2 separate regions of the Homo sapiens genome follow, and region 1 is linked to region 2. The links are contacts of gene promoters, found by promoter capture Hi-C in human tissues and cell types (Jung and others, 2019). All regions are on one chromosome and are shown on one strand. The core of a region is centred on a gene start or on the middle of the fragment in contact, and the rest is flanking DNA. Distances in the headings are between cores, read along the strand shown.

The links. Contacts are between HindIII fragments. The study calls those that stand out against the background at their distance.
Region 1: a fragment that was not itself captured here is called in contact with the fragment with the promoter of MAN2B2 in region 2 in 2 of the 25 tissues and cell types used here (dorsolateral prefrontal cortex and mesendoderm cells).

Annotation. Positions count from the first base shown.
Region 1 is chr4:6,429,942-6,435,603 of GRCh38, reverse strand. The region is part of intron 1 of PPP2R2C (protein phosphatase 2 regulatory subunit Bgamma); the gene reads left to right. Among named protein-coding and RNA genes, the nearest start is that of PPP2R2C, 40 kb to the left of the region's middle. The HindIII fragment of the contact is 5,863 bases long and covers 1,005-5,662 here.
Region 2 is chr4:6,572,199-6,577,769 of GRCh38, reverse strand. It overlaps MAN2B2 (mannosidase alpha class 2B member 2), which reads right to left and starts at 2,581. Exons shown (of 19, transcript NM_015274.3): 1 at 2,422-2,581; 2 at 1,046-1,192. The coding sequence starts at 2,559. LOC105374365 (a long non-coding RNA gene) reads right to left here. Exons shown (of 3, transcript XR_925098.3): 2 at 4,163-4,261; 3 at 3,432-3,579. RefSeq lists a silencer at 2,332-2,791 and enhancers at 2,080-2,848, 2,849-3,616, 3,617-4,385. The HindIII fragment of the contact is 15,458 bases long and covers 1-3,892 here.

The sequences.
Region 1 (5,662 bases), core at 2,687-5,186, 140 kb after region 2:
CTCATCACATTCAGAGATGAGTAATAATTAGTAAGGACCAGTGCAAGCTCTATCTCAAGATCCTCCAAAAATGAAGAAAGTAACAGATGAAAAATATGCGCAAGAAAACATTTGCCATAAATCAGATGAAAATATCAACTGTACATAATGCCTTGGACTAAGGAAAAAAATAATTGAGCAATCACACCTCTAAACAAGAGTATAAAGTTGAGATACAAGAACTCAGGAGAGGTGGTAACATGACAGAAGAGAGTGAAACCTGATATGATGAGCTCCACAAAGTAGATAGATTAACAAATAAACCCATCTAAAAAGTGAAGTATGCAATGGAATGATTATGACAGGGAACACAGAAAACACAGTAAGAGATATGGAAGATGAGATTGGGAAAAGCAAGATAAATTAATGTAAAGAGAGAGAGAGAAATATTAGAACATGATGCAGAGGACAGATAAGGGGATCCAACATACACATAATTGGTGTCCCTGGAGATAAGAATGAAAATAATTAAATAAAAAAAATTTAAGGCACAATTCCAGAACTTTCTAAAAATAAGATTTGAATTTATGGACTGAAAGGAAATACAGTGAGTGGCTGAGAAAATATTGATATGGTGAGGTCAACAGAAAGACATAGAGAAGTACTAATTTCCTCATAAATCAAGAACCCCCAAAAAAATTCAATAGAAGAATGGATAAAGGATGTGATGAGGAGATGGTTTACATAAAAGGAAATAGAAATATCTTTTAAACACATAAAAACTCAACCTCACTCATAATAAGAAAACTCCAAGTTAAGATACTGTTTTTTTATCTATCGTATAGGCAAGGACTAAAATAGCTGATATTACCATGATGGTGCAGGTATGAGGGAAACAAGAACTCTCAGAAACATGGCTATGGATTTCACTTCTAATCCTTGTCTGATGGAAGTACACAAGTAAGAGGCCAGGTGTGGTGGCTCATGCCTGTAATCCCAGCACTTTGGGAGGCCGAGATTGGCAGATCACTTGAGGTGAGGAGTTTGACACCAGACTGGCCAGCATCACGAAACCCCATCTCTACTAAAACTACAAAAATTAGCCAGGCGTGGTGGTGCATGCCTGTAATTTTAGGTACTTGGGAGGCTGAGGCACGAGAATCGCTTGAACCCAGGAGGTGGAAGTTGCAGTGAGCCGAGATCACGCCACTGCACTCTAGCCTGGGTGACAGTGTGAGACTCTGTCTCCAAAAAAAAAAAAAAAAGAAAAGAAAAAAGAAATACGCAGGTGAGAAATGACATTTATCCACATTTGTCATAGCATTGTTGGTAATGGGAAAGAATGGAAATATCTGTAATGGCCATCACAGGGGACTGTTTACATAAATTATTCCAGAGCGTGATAGTGGATAGCAATGAAAAGAACGTGACAGCTCAGGGTGCGCTGATGTAGAATGATGTTTAAGATTCTTTAGGTGAAATGAGCAAGGTGCAAAATAGTGGATGATCCATGACATGCTTTATGATTAAAACATGGTATCTTATGACTGCTTGTGTGTAGACTCCTTCTGGTAGGATGATGCACCTGAAAGTGCTCATAGTGGTTGCCACTAGACAGGAGAGCTGAGTGAGTGGGAGAAGGGCCTAAGGGAGACTTATTTTCACTGTTAGCTTTTTTGTGCCCTTTGCATTTTATACTCATTTCTTAACCAAAGGCTGCACAGCTTAGGTTGTGACCATAAGCTCTAGAGTCAGCTGTTCGAGTTCGAACCCTGACTGGGCTGCCTACTCGCTGTGTGACCTTGGACAAGTTACTTCACCTCTGTGGGTCTCAGAGTTGTCAGATGGATGTAACAATGGTGCCTGTTTCATAAGTTGTTGAGGATGAACTGAGTCAATTCAAGGGAAAGAATGAGGACAGAACCTGGCACAAAAAAATACAGTCAAATTAGCTATTATAGTGACTGCATGTATAGTTGAACCCAGGGTCTGGATTTGGAACCCGTATGCCTATTGGCCCAATGGGGGGGATGACTTGGCCACAGAACAGCCACAGCCAGGCAGTAAAGGGCACAGGGAGGGGGCCTTAGCCTGGGGCTTCAGGGAAGCTGCCCAGGGGAAGTGATGCTGCTGGGTCTTACAGAATGATGGGAAAACTTGGCGGCACCGTTTCAGGCGACGCTACTTAGATCTGCAAAACTGTTGATGTCTTACAATACCAAGTGTAGGGCGGGGCTGGAGAAATGGAAACTCATGCCACCACTGGAAATGGATATGAAAGCAAACCATTTGCAAAGTCATTTGCCAATATCCAGATATGTCCAAGCAGCCCCTCTGTTCCCCTTCTAGGTAAATAGCAGGGAAGCCTTCAGCTGTGCACAGAGAGCCATTCAGCAACAGAGCAGACCCTCGAACAACACGGGGTTGGGGGAGCCAACCCCCTGCACAGTCAAAAACCCACATACAACTTTTGACTCCCCAAAAACTTAACTAATAGCCTCCTCTTGATTGGACTTCCAAAAACATGAACAGTTGATAAACATACATTTTGTATGTTATATGTATTATATACTGTATTCTAATAAAGTAAGCTAGAGGAAAGAAAACATCATTAAGAAAATCATAAGGAAGAGGAAATATATTTTCTGTTCATTAAGTGGAAGGGGATCACTATAATCTTTATCCTCGTTGTCTTCATGTTGAGTAGGCTGAGGAGAAGGAAGAGGACGGGTTGGTCTTGCAGTCTCAGGGGTAGCAGAGGCGAAAGAAAATCATGTATAAGTGACCCTCACAGCTCAGCTCATGTTTGAGGGTCAACTGTATTCTAAAATCCAAGAGGCTCTGAAAGCCTAAAGATTTTTTCCTAACTTATTTGGCAGTGAAACCCAACCTAAATTGATGTGAAACCATTTATAGCCCTTCTCTATCCCTGTAGTGTGAAGTTTCATATGTTATGTACAGAAATAGAAATGCGTATGCGTGTTGTCCCAGAAGCCCTTGGGGGTGACAGATGTCCTAGGTGACCTGTGCACCATATTACTGTACAGTCCAAATCCTCTATCCTGAAATACTGGGCCCACCCTTTGGGATTTGGGAGATGACAGTGAAGCTGGTGTGTGTTCAGGGAATTCCAGGTTGTTGAAGGTGCTGGAGTAGAGGGGAGAGGGGGAAACGAGGCAGCAGGCGCTGGGTCCCGACGGTCCTTGGACACCTACTGAGGATGTGGGTACAACACTTGTTTCATCCCTGGGGCTCAGAGATGTCTGCTGAATCAGTCGAGGGGCCTTCAGTCCACTGTGAGCCCCAGAAGGCAGAGCTGTGGCCTCCTCCGACTTGTTTCTCAGAAAGGTCACTTGGGCAGCAGGTGAACATGGCTCAGGAGAGGCAAGGGAGGGTGGGGACAGGTAGGAAGCAGAAGCCACTTACTGGGCAAAGACCATAGCCATGAGGATGGGGAGGGACTGAGTAGCCAGAGAGGCGCTCATCAAAGCCTACTGCTGTCATCTGAAGGTCTGGTTTCTCCCAAATTCGTATATTGAAATTAAGCCTTAAGGTGATGCGTTAAGAGGTGGGGCCTTTGGGAGGTGGTCAGGTCATGAAGATGGAGCCCTCATTTATGGGATCAGTGGCTTTATAAAGGGACCCCACAGTGAGAAGATGGCCATCTATGAACTATGAAGAGGCCCTCCCCAGACACTGAAGCTTCTACACCTCGATCTTGGACTTCCCAGCCTCTAGAACTGTGAGATGTAAATGGCTGTTGTTATAAGCCCCCCGAGTCTGTAGTATTCTGTGGGAGCAGCCCCAAATGACTAAGTCCACGGCCCATCCTCCACCCACTGAGGCCATACCACTGGGAAGGGTATCAGAGGCAGGGTTGGGGTCTTAGAGGTCCAGGGTCTCTTGTCCAGGCTCCCCAGAGGCAGGCCCCGAGGTGTGGACTAGAGTATAAGTGGTTTATCAAGGAAGTGTACCCAGGGGAGGTCCAGATACAAGTAGGAGGGGCTCAAGCACAGAGGAGCCAGGGAAGGGGGGGCTCTGGACCGAAACCATGTCCCCTCCACAGCTTTGGACTTAGCCCCTTGGGGACACAGACGTGGCTGGGGATGGGTCACAAAGTAACCAGGGTGACTGCCAGCCTGAACTCTGGGCTCTCCAGACTTCTGGGGACCGTAGTCTCAGCCTGAGCAGCTTTCTCCAAGGAGGGTCCTGGAAACCTGGGGCCTGCCCCTGATTTTGTCCTGGGAGCAGGGCCCCTCCATGGTGTTCTGGAGCCCCTCATATTAGCTTTTGAGGTTGATTGCTTAATTTTCAGTTTGGAGAGCCAGCAGACATCTTGTTGGTAGTTTGAAATTGGCCAGGGCAGGGGTATTTATACCATGGAAGCTGGCAGGGGCTGCCTTCCAGAACCTCTCTCCCTCCAGGTGCAGGGAAACACGGACCTGCACACCCTGGTGGCTTTCACACCTTCCCCTCCTCAGGCGGCTCGTCCCCTTGCTCAGTTATACTGATCCTTGGGCTTGCAGGCAGAACCATCTCTGTCATCCAGAATCTCCCTAGTAACCCCAACCCCAAAAGTGGGCTGCCGGAAGAGGCAGATGGCAGTGTCCCAGGGCTATGGAAGCCACTGATAAACATCTTCCAACAAACAGGATCAGGGATCTGCAAAGTTTTTTTTTTGTTGTTGTTGTTGTTTTTTTGAGACAGAGTCTTGCTCTGTCGCCCAGGCTGGAGTGCAGTGGTGCGATCTTGGCTCACTGCAACCTCCGCCTCCTGGGTTCAAGTGATTCTCCTGCCTCAGCCTCACAAGTAGCTGGGATTACAGGTGCCTACCACCACAACTGGCTAATTTTTGTGTTTTTAGTGGAGGCGGTGTTTCACCATGTTGGCCAGGCTGGTCTGGAACTCCTGACCTCATGTGATCCACCCGCCTTGGCCCCCCAAAGTGCTAGGATTACAGGTGTGAGCCACCGTGCCCGGCTGGATCTGCAAAGCTGTTGAAAGGAGGAGTGGATAGGATTACAAAGTTGGCCTGATTCTGCTAAATGAACATTTCAACATGTTTCCCCTCGTGCACCGAGGAGGCGTGCACTCTCCTCTGAGGGTCTGAGGCTTTCTTCACGGAGACTTTGTAAACCACTTCTCCCCAGCACTCTGGAGTGGGGGAGTCACGTAGGGAAGTCATTTCTCTCCTCTTGGACCTCTCAGTCCCCTTTGGCTTCTCGCTGATACCAGGCAGTCAGGTGGATCAGAGAAGACATGGACTCTGGAGCTGGATGTCTGGTGCAGGCAGTGTGGCTTCAGGCAACTTGCTTTGCCTCTCTGGGCCTCAGCTTCCTCCTGGAAAATCATGATGCTCATACCTAGGGTTTCATGGGGGTCAGGCAGGACAGTGCAGGTGCAGGTATGAGCACCATCCCATCAAGGACATAGTCCTGGCTGCTTTCAGTGATCTTGGTGCTGGGGAAAATGGGGCTGATTCTCATGGAAGAGGAAATGGATTCATGTGCCCACTTCTTAAATGGAAATTCAAGGCCTTGATCGTGGCCCACTTATGAGGTGGGGACTAGTGAGGCTTCAGGTGGTGTCCTAAGATTAGAAAACTGGAGCATTCAGTTGGGAGTCAGACCTCTGCTGATGTGCTGTGTGACGTTGGGCAAGGTGTGTGACTTCTCTGGGCCTT
Region 2 (5,571 bases), core at 1,332-3,831:
TGCAGGCCATGCTTCTCTTTGAGGGCTAGGAGACAGACCACTGGGTTTGGTGGGGTCCACCTGAAGAAGCATGGGACGCTCACAGGATATCCTGGAAAGGCCTGCCTCGAGTCAGGCATGCCTGGCTCAGAATCCCACCTGCCGCTTACAAGCTGTGTGACTGCAGGCCAGTGGCGTGCCCTCTCTGAACCTGGAATGTCTCTTTAACTTGAGGTAAGAACCCCACTATCTGGCAGCATCAAGTGGCCATTGGATGTCCGGCTCCTTCCCGTGACTCTGGCGGGGCCTGGTGGACGCCCTGCTCTCCCTTCTCCGCTTCACTCCCTTGAGCAAGTCACTTGGCGTCCCTGAACTTTATGTTCAGCAACTATTCTGAAGGCAGGTGGATACCTGGGAGGAAACTAAGAACCCCCGAGTATCGTCCTGGGTGCTCACGCCAGGGCTTCATTCTTGGCATGACTTTTCTGCAATGGGGCGGTCACCCCCGTTTAATAGAAGTGGAATCTGTGGCTCGCAGGGGCTAGTCGTGTCCCCTGGTGCGGGAGCAGGATGGGACCCAGGCTGCCTCACTGTGCAGCGGGGACTCTGACTCTCCATGCTGTATGAAGCAACCTGCTGCCTACCCTCAAACCACAGGGACTATCGCACCCTCATCAAGGGTCACCAGACCCTGGGCCCGGGGGCCAGGCAGATAACACAAATGAGAGAAGAGGGTGAGGGCTTGGGGACACCTGGGATGCCTGGTGTCAGGGGGCACTGCTGACTTAGTGCCAGCTGGCACGGAAGTGCACAGCTGGGTTGCCAGAGCTGGCAGTTTTTTCAAGAATAGACAGAAATTCAGGATTAAATTGAAAGCAATCTCTCCCAGGCATGGAACTCACCGTGAACCTTGATCTAAACAAGGCTGTGAATAGCCCGGTGGGGTTTTGGCCCTGTGGTTTATGCCAGCCTGGCCCTGGCCCTGGCTAGAACTGCCCCATTGAGTTTTCCACCTGGGTCTTTGCCAGGATACTGGGCCAACTGTGTCACCTGGTGACCTCATTACCTGGTATTTCTGCTGGTCCGAGGCGACGCCATCCCACCACAGCCGGAAAAACTCCTGCTCCACAGCGATGAACCGGCGCTGCTGGCCGCGGGCCAGCTCTTCCACCACTGAGGTGTAGACATTGGCGGCGTACGCCCGCATGCTTTCCTGGGGAGGGGACAGCATCATGCCAGCCCCGGTCCAACAAGACCAAGTGTCCCTGGGGCCCCTGCCATTCGCCAGGTGTGTCTGCATGGGGTTGGGGGCTCTGCCCTTCCTTCCCTGCTGCTCACCCCCCACACAGCTATTAGGCACTCGCTCCATACCAGGCTCTCCCCACTGGATGGGATCGTGCTCTCCTGGGGGAGAGGGACGGGGAAACAGACACCCTACATGGGCAGAGACAGGTGCCCTCCCAGCCCAGGGGTCAGGGACAGTTTCTCAGAGGGGTGAGCAAGCTGGGCCTTGAGTGTGCAATTTGGGGGGCTGGGCCCTGAGTGTGCCATTGAGGGGCAGCACAGGAAAGTCTTAGGCCTCAGTCGGGGTGTGGTCCAGTGACCCCAAAGGGGCCTGCTGGGGCTGAAATGAGGAAAGCTGGTGCTGAGAGGAAGAGCTCCCCAGGCTGTCCCTGGCGTCTAGGCGTCTGCCTCCCCAAGGCTGGGAGCTCCAAGGACCACAGCTGTAGTGTGTTCCCATCCGAGTCCCGAGGGCCCTGCACACAGGGTGCCCACAGAGTGCTTACATGAATGGAAGGAGCACCGAGCAGGGAGTCAGGAGGCATGAGGGTTATTCCCGAGCGACCTTGGGCAAGGCAGCAACCCTCTCTGGGCCTCGGTTTTCTCCTCTGGAAACTGGCTGTAGTGGGCATGCTTCCCCTACCCTTTACAGATGGGGAAACTGAGGCTTAGGGACCAAAGCCCCTCGCCCAAGGTCCTGAGCAGAACCAGGAGGTGACCACAGGTCCACCTTCACCCCTGTCCTGGGGGGCGGAGGACGCTGAGCTGGCCTCCAATATTCAGCCCCGCAGGGGACCAGCCCGGCCCCTTCCCAGCGGGCACCTGACATCCACCTGCTCTGAAGCCAGCCCCACCCTCTCCTGCTCCAGGCTTCCCTGGAAAATGGGTTACCACTGTCAACCCCCAAGCCCCTCCCCAGCCGGGAATGCAGGGGTCCCTCCAATCTGCACCACCCTCCAGAAGGGGAAATGGGGGTTCAGAGGCAGGAAGTGACTGGCCCGAAGTTAGCGACGCAACCAGTCAATGGCAGCGTGGGGTCCTGAACCCACTGAGCCTCCTTCTGCGCCGGCATCGGGCCCCGGGACGCAAACCCACACTCAGATCCCGCGGGGAGAGGGAAGCTGCAGCCTCAGGGGCGCGCGGGGCGTGGTCGGCACCTACCTGCACAGTGTAGACCCAGCCCACGTCCATGTGGCTGTGGGGCACCACGAAGGCCCGGATGGGGCCGGCGGACTGGACCCCTGGCGGTCGCAGCAACAGGAGCGGTGCCAGCAGCGGCAGCCAGCACAGCTGCCCCATCCCTGCGGCAGGCCGGGAAGGTGCCAGGCCCACTTCCGGGTCCGCGAGGGGCGGGGCGGCCGCGCGGGCGGGGACGCGGCCCATTGGCTGCGGGCGGGGGCGGGGCCCATTGGTTGCCGGCTGGACGCCGACCCCGGGAAGCTCGGGAAGGAGGAGCTGGAGGCGCGGGGCCCTCAGCGGGGCAGGGCGCCTGCTCTTTGCGGTTTAGCTCTCCATCCCCGTCTCCAGCTTTCTGGCCTTCCCTCCCTGTCCATCCTTTCAGCCCCATCTCCCCCAAGCCTGCCAGATCTCCCCCAACCAGAGGAGACCCCTCCTCGCCCAAAGCCCACGCTCTGGTGGTTCCTCTCGGAGCGTGTGCCTCTTCGCAATACCTGCATCCCGCCCTCTGGACTCGGCTCCGGGACTCTGAGGCTACCGTGCAAAATTCGGCTCAGCACGGACCCTGTGAGCTCTGCCACCAGGAACCTTCCCTGATAACCCTTTCCCTCCTCTCCCTGGCGTCGAAACCCCATCTGGGCGGCGCCATGGGGGGCTTGTTATGGGACTGTCTCCTTTTTTTTTTTTTGGACAGGATCTCACTCTGTCTCCCAGGCCGGAGTGCAGTGGCGCGATCAGGGCTCACTGCAGCCTTGACCTCCCGGGCCCAAGTGATCCTCCCACCTCAGCCTCCTGAGTAGCTGGGACCACAGGGGCACACTGCCACACCCAGCTAATTAAAAAAAAAATTTATAGAGATGGGGGCCTCACTATGTTGCCCAGGCTGGTCCCAAACTCCTGAGCTCAAGCGATCCTCCTGCCTCCGCCTCTCAAAGTGCTGGGATTACAGGCATAAACCAGCATGCCTGGCTCAACTGTCTCCATTTTAAGGAGGAGAACTGGCTTTCAGAGACAGTAACTGACTTGTCCAAGATCACGCAGTTAGTGGAGGAGCCAAGAGAAGCTTTCTGGGTTACTGGATGGTGACCTGGGGCGACATAGGTAACCTCGCTGAGCCTCAGTGAAATGGGTCCGATAGAGGAGCTGTGAACAAAGTAAGGATGCACCCAGGCTGAGAGCGTGAGCACAGCACCCCTTGCCTGCACTCAGGGGAGGTGCGGTCACATTGGTGCAGCCTGTTTGGGACTGTTGCCTGGAGTCAGCCCTGTCCACTACTCCCTGCCCAAGAAAGCAAGGGTCTGTGGCTTGGGGTTTACTGTCTGAGAACCACTTGGCTGTGCCCCTGCCTGGCATTTCCTAGCGGAACCAGAGCTGCAGCTCTGAGCAAAAGTGCTGGTCCTCTTGTCCATTATGTAACAAATGGAAACTGAGAACAGGTTCTCCAAGCAGGTCTCCCTCCTCCTTCTGTCCTGTCCACCCCCTGGGGACCCCTGCATCCCCATAGCCTCAGGTCAGATGGTCTGAGCCTGACGTGGACAGTACTCACTAACACATGTCCCCATGACCGGCCAGGCTCACAGCTGGGCTCCACTCTCCAGCCTCTGCAACCAGGTGCGGCCACGTGGCTAAGTGCTAGTCAATGGGATGGGTGGGGGCGGGCACTGTGCTCCTCTTCCAGGCTGGCCCCTAACAACCTCCTGTGGGTGAGCCCTGCTCTCTTACTCACCCACTGCTCCAGTGGAGGGCACTCCGAGGACCTCAGGGAGGTTAGAGCCACCAATGGAGGCTCTGAAGAACCACATGGAACCATGAGGAACCCAAAGAGCTGTGACAAGAGGGAGAAATAAGCTTTAATTGTGTTAAGCCACTGAGTTTATCGATAAGGCAGTGTCACAATCTTTGGCAGACTGTATCTGCCAAAGATGGGCTCCACAACATTACCCACCCCCCAAGCTCTTTGTAGAATTTGGTTGACGAGAAAAGCCACACTCTAAAATATCTCAGAACGTTTATTCTAAGCCAAATAGGAGTGACCATGGCCTGTGACACAGCCTCAGGAGGTCCTGAGAACAGGTGCCCAAGGTGGTTGGGCTATAGCTTTATACATTTTATGGGGACAGAAGTTACAGGCAAAGACATGAATCAATATATGTAAAGTATACATTGGTTTGGCCCAGAAAGGTGGGACATCTTGAAGTGGGTGGGTGGTGCTTCCAGGTCAGAGGAGGATTCAAAGATTTCCTGATTGGCAATTGGTTAAAAGAGTTAAGCTTTACCTGAAGAGTTGGAGTCGGCAGAAAGAAATGCTTGAGTTAAGACAATGGGGATGTGGAAGCTAAGGTTCTTGTTACATAGATGAAGCCTCCAGTTAGCAGGCTTCAGAGAGAATAGATGTGCATGTCTCTGGGGACCTTAAAAGGTATCAGACTCTCTGGAAAAGAGCTAGTAAGTAAGGAGATTCTCTACAGAATGCAAGTTTCCCCCACAAGAGATGACTTTGCAAGTCCATTTCAAAATATGTCAAAGAAAATTTATTTTGGGGTAAAATACTTTGATTTCCTTTAGGGCCTGCTCTCTGTCGTGTGTTGCTATACCAGAGTCATGTTAGAATCGGGTATCTGATTGCTACAAAAGTGTTCTGTCAGTCTTAGGAGGATCTCTATGTTAATGTTAATGCTGGTCAGCTGTGCCGAAACTTAAAGGGAGGAGGCTATGATGAGGCATGTGTGACCTCCCACTTCCCATCATGGCCTGAACTAGTTTTTTGGGTTTCTTTGGGGTCCCCTTGGCCGACAGGGGGTCCATTCTCTCAGCTGGGGCTTATAATTTTATTTTTGATTTACAATATGATCTTGACATTCTTCCTATTAGGAGATAGGGTCTATGTCTCCTCTCATTGAATCTTGTTTATTTATTGTTTTTTATTTTATTAATTTTTGTGTTTTTTAGAGATAGAGTCTTGCTCTGTTGCCCAGGCCAGAGTGCAGTGGTGGACTCCTAACTTACTTCAGCCTCAAACTCCTAGGCTCACGTGATCCCCCTGTTTCAGCCTCCTGAGTAGCTGAGACCACAGGTATGTGCCATCATGCCTGGCTAATGAAAACTTTTTTTTTTCTTTTTTTTTTAGATATAATA